3 separate regions of the Homo sapiens genome follow, and all the other regions are linked to region 2. The links are contacts of gene promoters, found by promoter capture Hi-C in human tissues and cell types (Jung and others, 2019). All regions are on one chromosome and are shown on one strand. Each heading gives the region's core, a stretch centred on a gene start or on the middle of the fragment in contact. The rest is flanking DNA. Distances are from core to core; before and after follow the strand shown.

Region 1 (3,251 bases), core at 567-3,066, 350 kb before region 2:
TCATCGAATTCTATATAGCAGAATCCTTTAAATTTATCTGTGTCTTTGTCTCTGACTACCCGTACACTCCTTATGCTGAGATCCTTAAAGATAGCATCTATGTCGCCCTGAACCATATTAAAAGGTAGATTCCCTACATATGCTGTGTGTGGGGCTCTGTGAGCGACTCCTTCTGGCTACGGGAACCATGGCCACCAGTACTGCCGTGGGACCCTCTGTTTTTTTTTTTTGGTTTTTTTTTTTTCGTTTTTTTTTTTTTTCTTATATTGCTAAGATTTACCTACGTTGCTTCATGTTACTGGGGTTTAGTTTTAGCTACTGTATATATTCCTTCATGCGAATGTACCACAGTTATTCATTCAATAAATTTGTGTTGTTTCCAAGTTTTTGTTATTGGAATAGTCTCATGCATAAGTCCTGTTGTACATTTGCAAGAATTTCTCGAGTATATTTTTACAAGTAGAATTACTGGGTTATGACTATGTGATTGTTCATCTTTTTTTGTGGGGGGACAGAATTTCACTCGTCGTCCAGGCTGGAGTGCAGTGGCACCATCTCGGACACTGCAACCTCCACTTCCCAGGTTCAAGCACTTTTCCTGCCTCAGCTTTCCGAGTAGCTGGGATTACAGGTGTGTGCCACCACGCCTGGCTAATTTTTATATTTTTAGTAGAGACAGGGTTTCACCAGGTTGGCCAGGCTGGTCTCGAACTCCTGACCTCAGGTGTTCCACCGGCCTTGGCCTCCCAAAGTGCTGGGATTACAGGCGTGAGCCACCACGCCTGGTGGAAAGCCAAACTGTTTTCCCGAGTGTTGTACCAATTTACAACTTTTGCCAGCAGCAATGTATCAGAGATATTGTAGCTCTACAGCTTCTTCAACATACATGTTTTTTATGTGATGACTGGCCATATATGTTTTTTCTGCAAAATTCTTGTTCATGACTCTTGCACATTTTCCCATTATTTTTACATTAATTGTTGATTAGAAGTTCTTTATGTGGGCTGGGCATGGTGGCTTTTGCCTGTAATCCCAGCACTTTGGGAGGCAGAGGCAGGCAGATCACCTGAGGTCAGGAATTTGAGACCAGCCTGGCCAACATGGCAAAACTCCATCTCTACTAAAAATACAAAAATTAGTCGGGCGTGGTGGCGCACACCTGTAATCCCAGCTCCTCAGGAGGCTGAGGCAGGAGAATCGCTTGAACCCGGGAGGCGGAGGTTGCAATGAGTCGAGATCACATCACTGTACTCCAGGCTGGGCGACAGAGTGAGACTCCATCTCAAAAAAAAGTTCTTTATGTGATCTTTTAAAAATTTTTATTTTTAACTATGATAAAATACTCTGTATTCTTGATAATAATCCTCTGTCAAGTGTAGGTAGATATTATGATTACCTTCTCCAAGTTTGTTTATGCATCGTCTTTTCACTTTCTTTAAATTGCCTTTTAGTGAGTAAAAGTTCTCAATGAACAAAAGTATTTTAATATGGTCAAATATATGAATGCTTGTGTCTTAATATTTCCTTAGGGTCTAAAAGATATTTATCCTTTTCAACTTATTAAGTCATTGTTTACAATAAGTCAAACAATATTACTGTAAGGCCATTATTTGATTTTCTTTATAACGTGAGGGAGGGATTAAGTGCATCTTTTTCCATAGGGATTCATTTGGTGAGCCATTCCATCTTCCCACAAGATCTGATATGCCACCTTTGTCATATATCAGAGGTACATATATCCATGGGTCTGTTTCTGGGCTCACTAATCTGTTCCATTAGAGTTTCAAAATAAAAATCCTGGTATCTAGTAGGGTAAGTCCTCTCTGGTCTTCTTCAGAAATGTCTTGGCCCTTTATTCCTCAATATAAATTTAAAAATTCTAATATCAAGTTCCATGAAGGTCCCTATTGGGGTTTTGTTTGATTTACTGACTTTTTAAATCATGACATCTTTACAATACTTTCTATCCGTGAACATTATATCTTTCTCCATTTATTTAGCTCTTCTTTGGTATCTCTTATTAAAGCTGTATAATGTTCTCTATAGAGGTCTGGATTATATTAGATTTATTACAAGGTCCTTGATGTTATATGCTGTTAATTTTTTTTTTTTTTTTGAGATGGAGTTTCGCTCTTGTTGCCCAGGCTGGAGTGCAATGGCATGATCTTGGCTCACCACAACCTTTGCCTCCTGGGTTCAAGTGATTCTCCTGCCTCAGCCTCCAAAGTAGCTGGGATTACAGGCATGCGCCGCCACGCCTAATGTCGTATTTTTAGTAGAGATGGGGTTTCTCCATGTTGGTCAGGCTGGTCTCAAACTCCCGACCTCAGGTGATCTGCCTGCCTTGGCTTCCCAAAGTGCTGGGATTACAGGCATGAGCCACTGCGCCCAGTCTTGGTGTCTTATCTTAAATTGCATTTTTCTAGTTGTTTGCTGAAATGCAACTGGCTTTCGTATATTAATCTTGTATCTAGGCACCTAAAATGATTTTTCTGAATCTATTGAAATCTGTTAATATGATTACTCTATGGATTTTCTAATATAAAATCATTCTATATACCCAGGATAAATTCAACCTGATTATAGGATGCTATCTTTTTTATACACTGTTGGATTGGATTTTCTGATATCGTTTTAGATTTTTGCTTATATATTTATTAATATAAGTGAAATAGGGTAGAACTTTTATTTTCCTACTGCTAGTTTAGCCTAATTTGGTATGAGGGTTATCCTGGCCTCACAGTTTAGGAGAGGTGAATATTTCCTTTTTCTATGATCTGGAACACTTTATATGAAATTGGAATAATATGTTTCTGAAAAAATAGGGAGAATTCATCTGTAAAATTATCTGGGCCTCGTGTTTTCCTTACAGTAATTTTTAAACTATTGCTTCAGTTACTTTATTATAGGACTATTCATGTTTTCAATTTCTTCTAGAGTCAGTTCTTTTTCTTTTTTTTTTTTTTTTGAGATAGGGTCTGCTTTGTCACCCAGGCTGGTATGCAGTAGTAGTCATGGCTCACTGCAGCCTCGACTTCCTGGGCTCAAGTAACCTTCCTGCCTCAGCCTCCTGAGTAGCTGGGACTACAGGTGTGTACTACACATGTGTACTACAGGTGGGACTACACATGGCTAATTAAAAAAATTTTTTTTTTGTAGAGACAGGGTCTTGCTGTTGCCCAGGTTGGTCTTGAACTCATGGGCTTAAGCAATCCAACTGCCTTGGCTTTCCAAAGTGCTGGGATTATAAG
Region 2 (3,499 bases), core at 612-3,111:
AGAAGCCAGCTTGAAGAAGATGGGCCAAGGCTGGGTGCGATGGCTCACTCCTGTAATCCCAGCACTTTGGGAGGCTAAGGTGGGCAGATCTCTTGAGGTCGAGAGTTCAAGACCAGCCTGGCCAACAAGGTGAAACCCTGTCTCTACTAAAAATACAAAAATTAACCATGTGTGGTGGCGTGCGCCTGTAATCCCAGATACTCGGGAGGCTGAGACAGGAGAATTGCTTGAACCTGGGAGGAGGAGGTTGCAGTGAGCCACTGCCCTCCAGCCTGGGCCACAGAGCAAGAAGACTCTGTCTCAAAAAATAAATACATAAAAATAAGGAAGAAGAAGAAGAAGATGGGCCAGAGGTGCTGGGAGCAGGGACCCAGTGGGAGGAGACAAGAGTAGGGGAGAGTTCCTGATTTTACCCCTTATGGCTCAAGCTCCAGCCTGCAGTGTGTGGGGTACTGGGGAGGCCCCACCCTGTAGAAGAGGCAGATCTGCTCATTGCCCTCTTCCAGGGCTAAGGGGGACTCTCCTGGGACTTAGTAAGGCCACCTATGTGCATGCCTCTGGCAGGAGCCAGGCATGTGGGATACAATGTCCTGAGTAAGCACCAGGTCCAGATAGTCCTGATTGTCACTTACTACATGGCTGTATGGCCCCAGGCATGCTGCTTCCCTCTTCCAGGCTCTGTCAGGTAGGGAAGAACAGTCTGGGGCTCAAGGAGCACATGAAGCCTTTGGACTAGAACTTGACATGGAGCCCAGCAAACGGTTTCTGATTAGAGCTAAAGCTGGTGATGTTCTGCCTGTATCACCTCAGCCTCACTACTCCCCAGCAGCAGCACCTGTGTTTCTCTGCCTAAGTACGCTCTCCAGCCTTCTGAATTGTGTGCACAGCAGGCCAGCAGTGCCAGCAGAATTGACAGCCCCTGGAGCAGCCCTCAACTGAAGACTGTCCCGAGATGCTGCATAAATACCCCAGCTCCCTCCCCACTCAGGCAAGGAAACGCTGATGGGCAGGTTCCCTGCTGTCTCCCAGAAGTCCCCACTGGGATTGAGCTCTTCTGTACTTCCTTGATAACCAGGCCTATACAGCTGCCTTCCGTTCTCTGTCTCATTTCCACACTTCCCTACTTGTGTTTCTCAGGACACCTCCCTAATAAACTTGCCCTGAACTCCTTGTTTCAGGGCAACCCAGACTACTACAAATAACTACTGTGTTCCAGGCCCCGTGCACACCGCGTGATCTCATGTGTCCTCACCTTGGGCTCTGGCTTTCTGCTTGTCCAGTGGGTGGTGGGGGCAGATGTAGCCAGGAGTCCCTCCTCACCTCTCATCCTGGCTCCCAGGCCAAGTGTGGCCCAGCTCAGGATTGCAAATCCACCTGTTTGGGTCTGGGCCTGGGAAGTTTCATCCTCAACCCTGAAGCCATGTGCCTTAACATCTGGGATGAATCATGGGCAGTTGCTCTGGACATGTCAGGTGGTAGATGAAGCCTGGGATGAGAGTGAAGGCATGATGACAGTGACTTCCGGGCCTCTGTTGGGGGTGAGAGATGACTTCTCCTGGCTCAAAGAGGCATCCGATGGGACCACAGGAGTAGAGGGTAGGGGACTGAGAGGCAGGGTGAACAGCCGCCTCCGTGTGTGTGTGAAATCAGGTGGTGTCAATTTCAACATGTCATCAACGCTCCGAGGAAACATCGCTGTCCTAATTTTGCAAGTGAGGATGTGAACCCAGGGCAGGCTGAATCCAGGGCCCCATGCCTGAGGCACCTAGTAAGGAATGAGCCCCACCTGTTGCCCTGAGGCTCACAGGAAGTAGTGGGATTTCTGGGTGGTGATAAATGTGGGCATGGCTACCAGCTGGCAAAAGGCAGGCCACCTGGAGGGAGCCACAGAGTGGAGCCTGGACCCATTCATGGGCAGCATGAGTGGACAAGTGGGTGACCTGAGCCCATCGCAGGAGAAGTCGCTGGCCCAGGTGAGTGAAGGGAGAGACTCCTACACCAGCCTCAGTTTCTCCTTCTGCCACGGGGAAGGGCAGGACTCAAGGTCCCTGAGTTTCTTCTGAACTCTCCAGCTCTGGGTCTCTTCCCAACCCTGAGGGGCTTGGTAGCCAGAGGCTACACCAGCACTAACCAATAGAAATACCACGCCACCACAAACGCAAGCCACATAGGTCATTTGAAATTTTCTTTCTTCCTTTTTTTTTTTTTTTTTTTTTTTGAGACGGAGTTTCGCTCTTGTTGCCCAGGTTGGAGTACAACGGCACAATCTTGGCTCACTGCAACTTCTGCCTTCTGGGTTCAAGCAATTCTCCTGCCCTAGCCTCCGGAGTAGCTGGGATTACAGGCACCTGCTACCACGCCTGGCTAATTTTTGTATGTTAGTAGAGATGGGGTTTTAACCACGTTGGTCAGGCTGGTCTGGAATTCCTGATCTCAGGTGATCCACCCACCTTGGCCTCCCAGAGTGCTGGGATTACAGGCATGAGCCACCATGCCCGGCCTTTTTGAAATTTTCTAGTAGCTCCATTAAAGAACTAAAAAGAGGCTGGGCGCTGTGGCTCATGCCTGTAATCCCAACACTTTGGGAGGCTGAGGTGGATGGATCATTTGAGGTCAGGAGTTTGAGACCAGCCTGGGCAACAGGGTGAAACCCTGTGGCAGGAGAATCGTTTGAACCCAGGAGGTGGAGGTTGCAGTGGGCCAAGATTCTGCCACTGCACTCCAGCCTGGGAGACAGAGCAAGACTATGTCTCAAAAACAAAACAAAAACAAAAACAAAACAAAACAAAACAAAAAAAACCTAAAAAGAAACAATTGAAGTAAAGTTTAATGATGTATTAACTTCAATATATAATCTAATCAATATAAAAACAACTGGTCTGGTGCAGTAGCTCGGGCCTATAATCCCCGCACTTTGAGGCGGGAGGATCACTGGAGCCCAGGAGTTCTGGCAACATAGCAAGAACACATCTTTACAAAAAATTAAAAAATTAGCAACATAGGGAGACCCCATCTCTAAAAACAACAACAACAACAACAAATAGCTGGGTGTGGTGGCCCATGCCTGTAGTCCCAGCTACTCGGGAGGCTGAGGTGGGAGGATGGATTGAGCCTAGGAGGTCGAGACTGCGGTGAGCCAACATCGTGCCACTGCACTCCAGCCTGGGCAACAGAGCTAGACCCTGTTTCAAAAAAAAAAAAAATGAGTGTTTTGAGGGGATACTGAGTCTTTGGAATCCTGTGTATTTTACACTCACAGCAGACCTCAGTTCAAACTAGCCACATTTTAAGAATTTGTGGCTACCATATTGGACAGGGCTGGTGAAGGCTGCTGGCCTGCTGGGGAGGCTGCATTGGCAGGTCACGTCCTCAGCTATGAGCTGGAGGAGGCAGGAACAGGGTGCATTTTCGTCTCTAGCCTGGGAGGAGTCCCTTGAAGGTCCTTAGGGTCTTTCCTTCGTGGTCGCACACGGCAAGCTTGGGGTCCAGGAAGACTCAC
Region 3 (3,325 bases), core at 819-3,318, 430 kb before region 2:
TACAGGTACCCAACACCATGCTCAGCTAATTTTTTCTTTCTTTTTTTTTGAGATGGAGTCTTGCTCTGTTGCCCAGGCTAGAGTGCAACAGTGCGATCTTGGCTCACCACAACCTCTGCCTCCTGGGTTCAAGTCATTCTCCAGCCTCAGCCTCCCGAGTAGCTGGGATTACATGATTAACCATCATGCCTGGCTAATTTTTGTATTTTTGTAGAGACGGGGTTTCATCATGTGGCCAGGCTGGTCTTGAATTCCTTGACCTAAGGTGCTCCACCCACCTTGGTCTCCCAAAGTGCTGGGATTACAGGTGTGAGCCACTGTGCCCAGTCTATCCACTTTAAATTGTCCTATTGTCAACAATTACCTGGCCCTCCAAATTCTACTCTCAACAGGCACGATTCCAAATGACAAGAAATGATATCATTACTGTTTTGTCACCCTTAACTCGTAGATTTATCCTCCCAGGGACACAGAACAAGAGCTGGTGCCATTATCTGTCTCAGTACAATAATCAATTCCAGATCCTCCATATGTTCCTGTGGGTTAAAGGCCTACCATTTAACTCTCCGGCCTCCATTTCTGTAATTAGTCAGTCATTTGGTCACCAGCAATAGAAACCCATTTTGGCTGACAAAAAGGAAACTTATTTTAAGGAGGCTATGTGGTAGTTTATACAATCAAAGGAAAACTTGGACAACCAGGCTTGGAGAATAGGAGCCAGCATACTTTGGAGATCTCCTTTCATAAACTTTTAAATGGTTTCTTTAGAACACTACGATCAGAATGACTCAACTCTGATCACTTTGTGGTCACCTTTCTTAAGAATCAAAGTCCTTGTGGGACAGAACGAGCTTGCATTGCTCAAACCTCAGCCAGGGGGCATGAGGCCGGAGTACTGTCATCTACATTTCCACTACCACCACACAGAATGGGAAGGAGCAGCTTTCTAAAGGATAAGTGGGGATGTATGATTAAAGTAAAGGGGAAGTGATTTTTGGCAAGCCAAAGCAATGGATGTCCACTATACCTATATTTACATGATGGGGAGAAGAACCTACAATAAAGGAGTAGTCTGCAAGTTGAAAAGAAAATTAAAAGTATTATAGCACTTAAGGGAAGTGTTTCAAGAAGCTGGTGGGAGTTACCTGTGCTGCTGAAAGTTCATATTAGATGCAGGTGTAACGGATTTAGCAATGAAAAGGTCACTATTGACCTTAATTGCAGTGACATCAGAATATTTCAAGGATTTTTTAAAAAAAGTGACTTTCCCCCTGCTTTCTGCCTAATGTGGATACTGCAATAGTCTTAGCAGATCAACATCAGTCAAGAACTAGAATAATCTTTGATAAACCTTAAAACCACAAAATTCTGATAATCCAAATAAACTCACTTGAAGGAGACATGCTTAAAAAACTAAGGAACAATTACTAAGCTCTGAGTTTCTCAAACAAGCAATGGTATAGCAATCTGTCAACTTGAGTAATGAATGATTTATATTTAATATTTACTAACATAAAAGTAGGCATTTTAAATCATTTGATAAAACAGGCTCAGTGTTGAATAACTTGCCAAGGTCAAACAGTAAGCACTAAATTTAATTTTAAAAATTCTTTATTTAAAATAAAGTTTAAAAATAATGTGGGTAGTGTAAAATATTAATACAGAAATGTATAAAGTTGAAAGTTTCATGTGATCTACACTGTTCAAAGAAAGCTGTGAATAGACCTTTCTATGCATTTATAAACATAAGCACACACATTTTAAAATGAGTTCACACTGTACACTTTTCTATTAATAACTTGTTTCACCTAATGTATCATGGCCATTTTTCCATACACAATGAATGTACTTTATTCATTTTAACAGATACGAGATATTCCTATATGGCTGAACCACACCTTAACCTATCCTTTAATGACAGACATTTAGGTTTTCTATTACTTTCTACCATGTCATTTTTACGCTTCTGTGGGATCTTAAATATTCCCTCAGTTCCTGTTTCATTTTGTCTTCCACTTTGGAAAGTAATTTCAGTGACCATGACCTCTAGCTTAATAAATACTTGGATCTGTCAAGTCTCAATGTTGGTAGATATATTAGTGTGGATTCAATTTCAAGTAACAGAAACCCAACTCAAAGTAACTTAAGCAAAAAAGGGTATTTATTGGTTCACATAACTGAAAAGTCCAGGGGATATTCTAGCTTCAGGCACGGTTGGATCCAGGGGCACAAACGCTGTCATCAGGATTCAAGTCTCTCCATATTTTGGCTCTGCTTTCCCCTGCACTGGCTTCATTCTCTACATGGTAGGCCCTGTTAGTTTGAGGTTTTCATCCTACAAAGCTAAAGCACCCTCAGTAAAGAGAGCTTCTCCTCCACAGTTCAGATGGATTTGCTGATTGATGAGGTCTGAATTACATGTTCACCCACAAAGCTCAAGGTTGGGTCAGACTGTCCAAACCACAGACTGAAAATAGGAAGAGGTGGTTTTAAGAAACATCAGGGAGTTGTTACAAGATGGAACGGATGCTGGGCAATTAAAAACTACTGATGTCCAGGATAAGAACAGATATGAAAAAGCTTAATCTCTGCTTAAGAAGTTGAATGGTAACAGCTGGCATGGTTTCTTCCTTGGTTATAAAAGTATTCTAAAAAAACACCATGAGAGATAAGTTTGTCCTGTCCTCAAGAAGTCTGTAATCCATTTGAATGGAATAATAATCATGTCCAATAGCATATGTTGGATGAAACCACAGTTTCAACACAAGCAAACTCAGTGGTCATGAGTCTGAGAGCCCAACTGTCCTGCTGATCTGAAGTAAGACAACTAGCCTTCTACATCAAATAATTCTGTGAGGCAATTTGAGTCAGCTGTAAATTTTAAGTACAGTGGAAACTTTTCTTCTTTTGCTAGGTTGAACTGGTACAGTTCTGTGTGTACTGGTGAATCGGACTCATTTCTGCACTACTGAAGGAGAGAAATGGACGCGGCTTTCGAACTGCTGTATTCCTTCCAGACCCGATAGATGAGGTTCCAGGTGCTGAAAATGAACAATTACATACAGGAATAGAGGCCTACTCTGCACTTAAAAATATCTTCAAAAAAGTTGCTGGTCAAGGAGTATGCAGCAATGGTCCTTCCTGTTGTGAACATTGAGTCCTAGTGGGTGAGGTGTGGGTTGTTACTATTAAAAATCCTTGTTGTATTGGGCACAAGATAGACTGAAATTGACTGTAGTCCTCACGGTGAGTCTAATTGCAGCAACATGTGAAAAAGGCAGGCAAGAGCTGAGTCAGGAAAATAGACAAGCAGGGTACCTTCAGA

Evidence for each region. The method cuts DNA at HindIII sites, captures the fragments that hold promoters and counts their contacts. A contact is called where the count stands out against the background at its distance.
Region 1: a contact is called between a fragment that was not itself captured here and the fragment with the promoter of SEC14L6 in region 2, in 1 of the 25 tissues and cell types used here (aorta).
Region 3: a fragment that was not itself captured here is called in contact with the fragment with the promoter of SEC14L6 in region 2 in 1 of the 25 tissues and cell types used here (spleen).

What each region holds. Positions count from the first base shown.
Region 1 is chr22:30,899,120-30,902,370 of GRCh38, reverse strand. All of the region lies in intron 12 of OSBP2 (oxysterol binding protein 2), which reads right to left. All of the region lies in intron 2 of LOC107985544 (a long non-coding RNA gene), which reads left to right. It also overlaps the pseudogene EIF4HP2. Among named protein-coding and RNA genes, the nearest start is that of MORC2-AS1, 22 kb to the left of the region's middle. The HindIII fragment of the contact is 3,788 bases long and covers 1-3,251 here.
Region 2 is chr22:30,545,103-30,548,601 of GRCh38, reverse strand. It overlaps SEC14L6 (SEC14 like lipid binding 6), which reads left to right and starts at 1,861. Exons shown (of 12, transcript NM_001193336.4): 1 at 1,861-1,973. The coding sequence starts at 1,920. The HindIII fragment of the contact is 18,463 bases long and covers 1-3,499 here.
Region 3 is chr22:30,977,664-30,980,988 of GRCh38, reverse strand. It overlaps TUG1 (taurine up-regulated 1), which reads right to left. Exons shown (of 3, transcript NM_001396518.1): 3 at 1,594-3,325. Among named protein-coding and RNA genes, the nearest start is that of TUG1, 10 kb to the right of the region's middle. The HindIII fragment of the contact is 3,375 bases long and covers 381-3,325 here.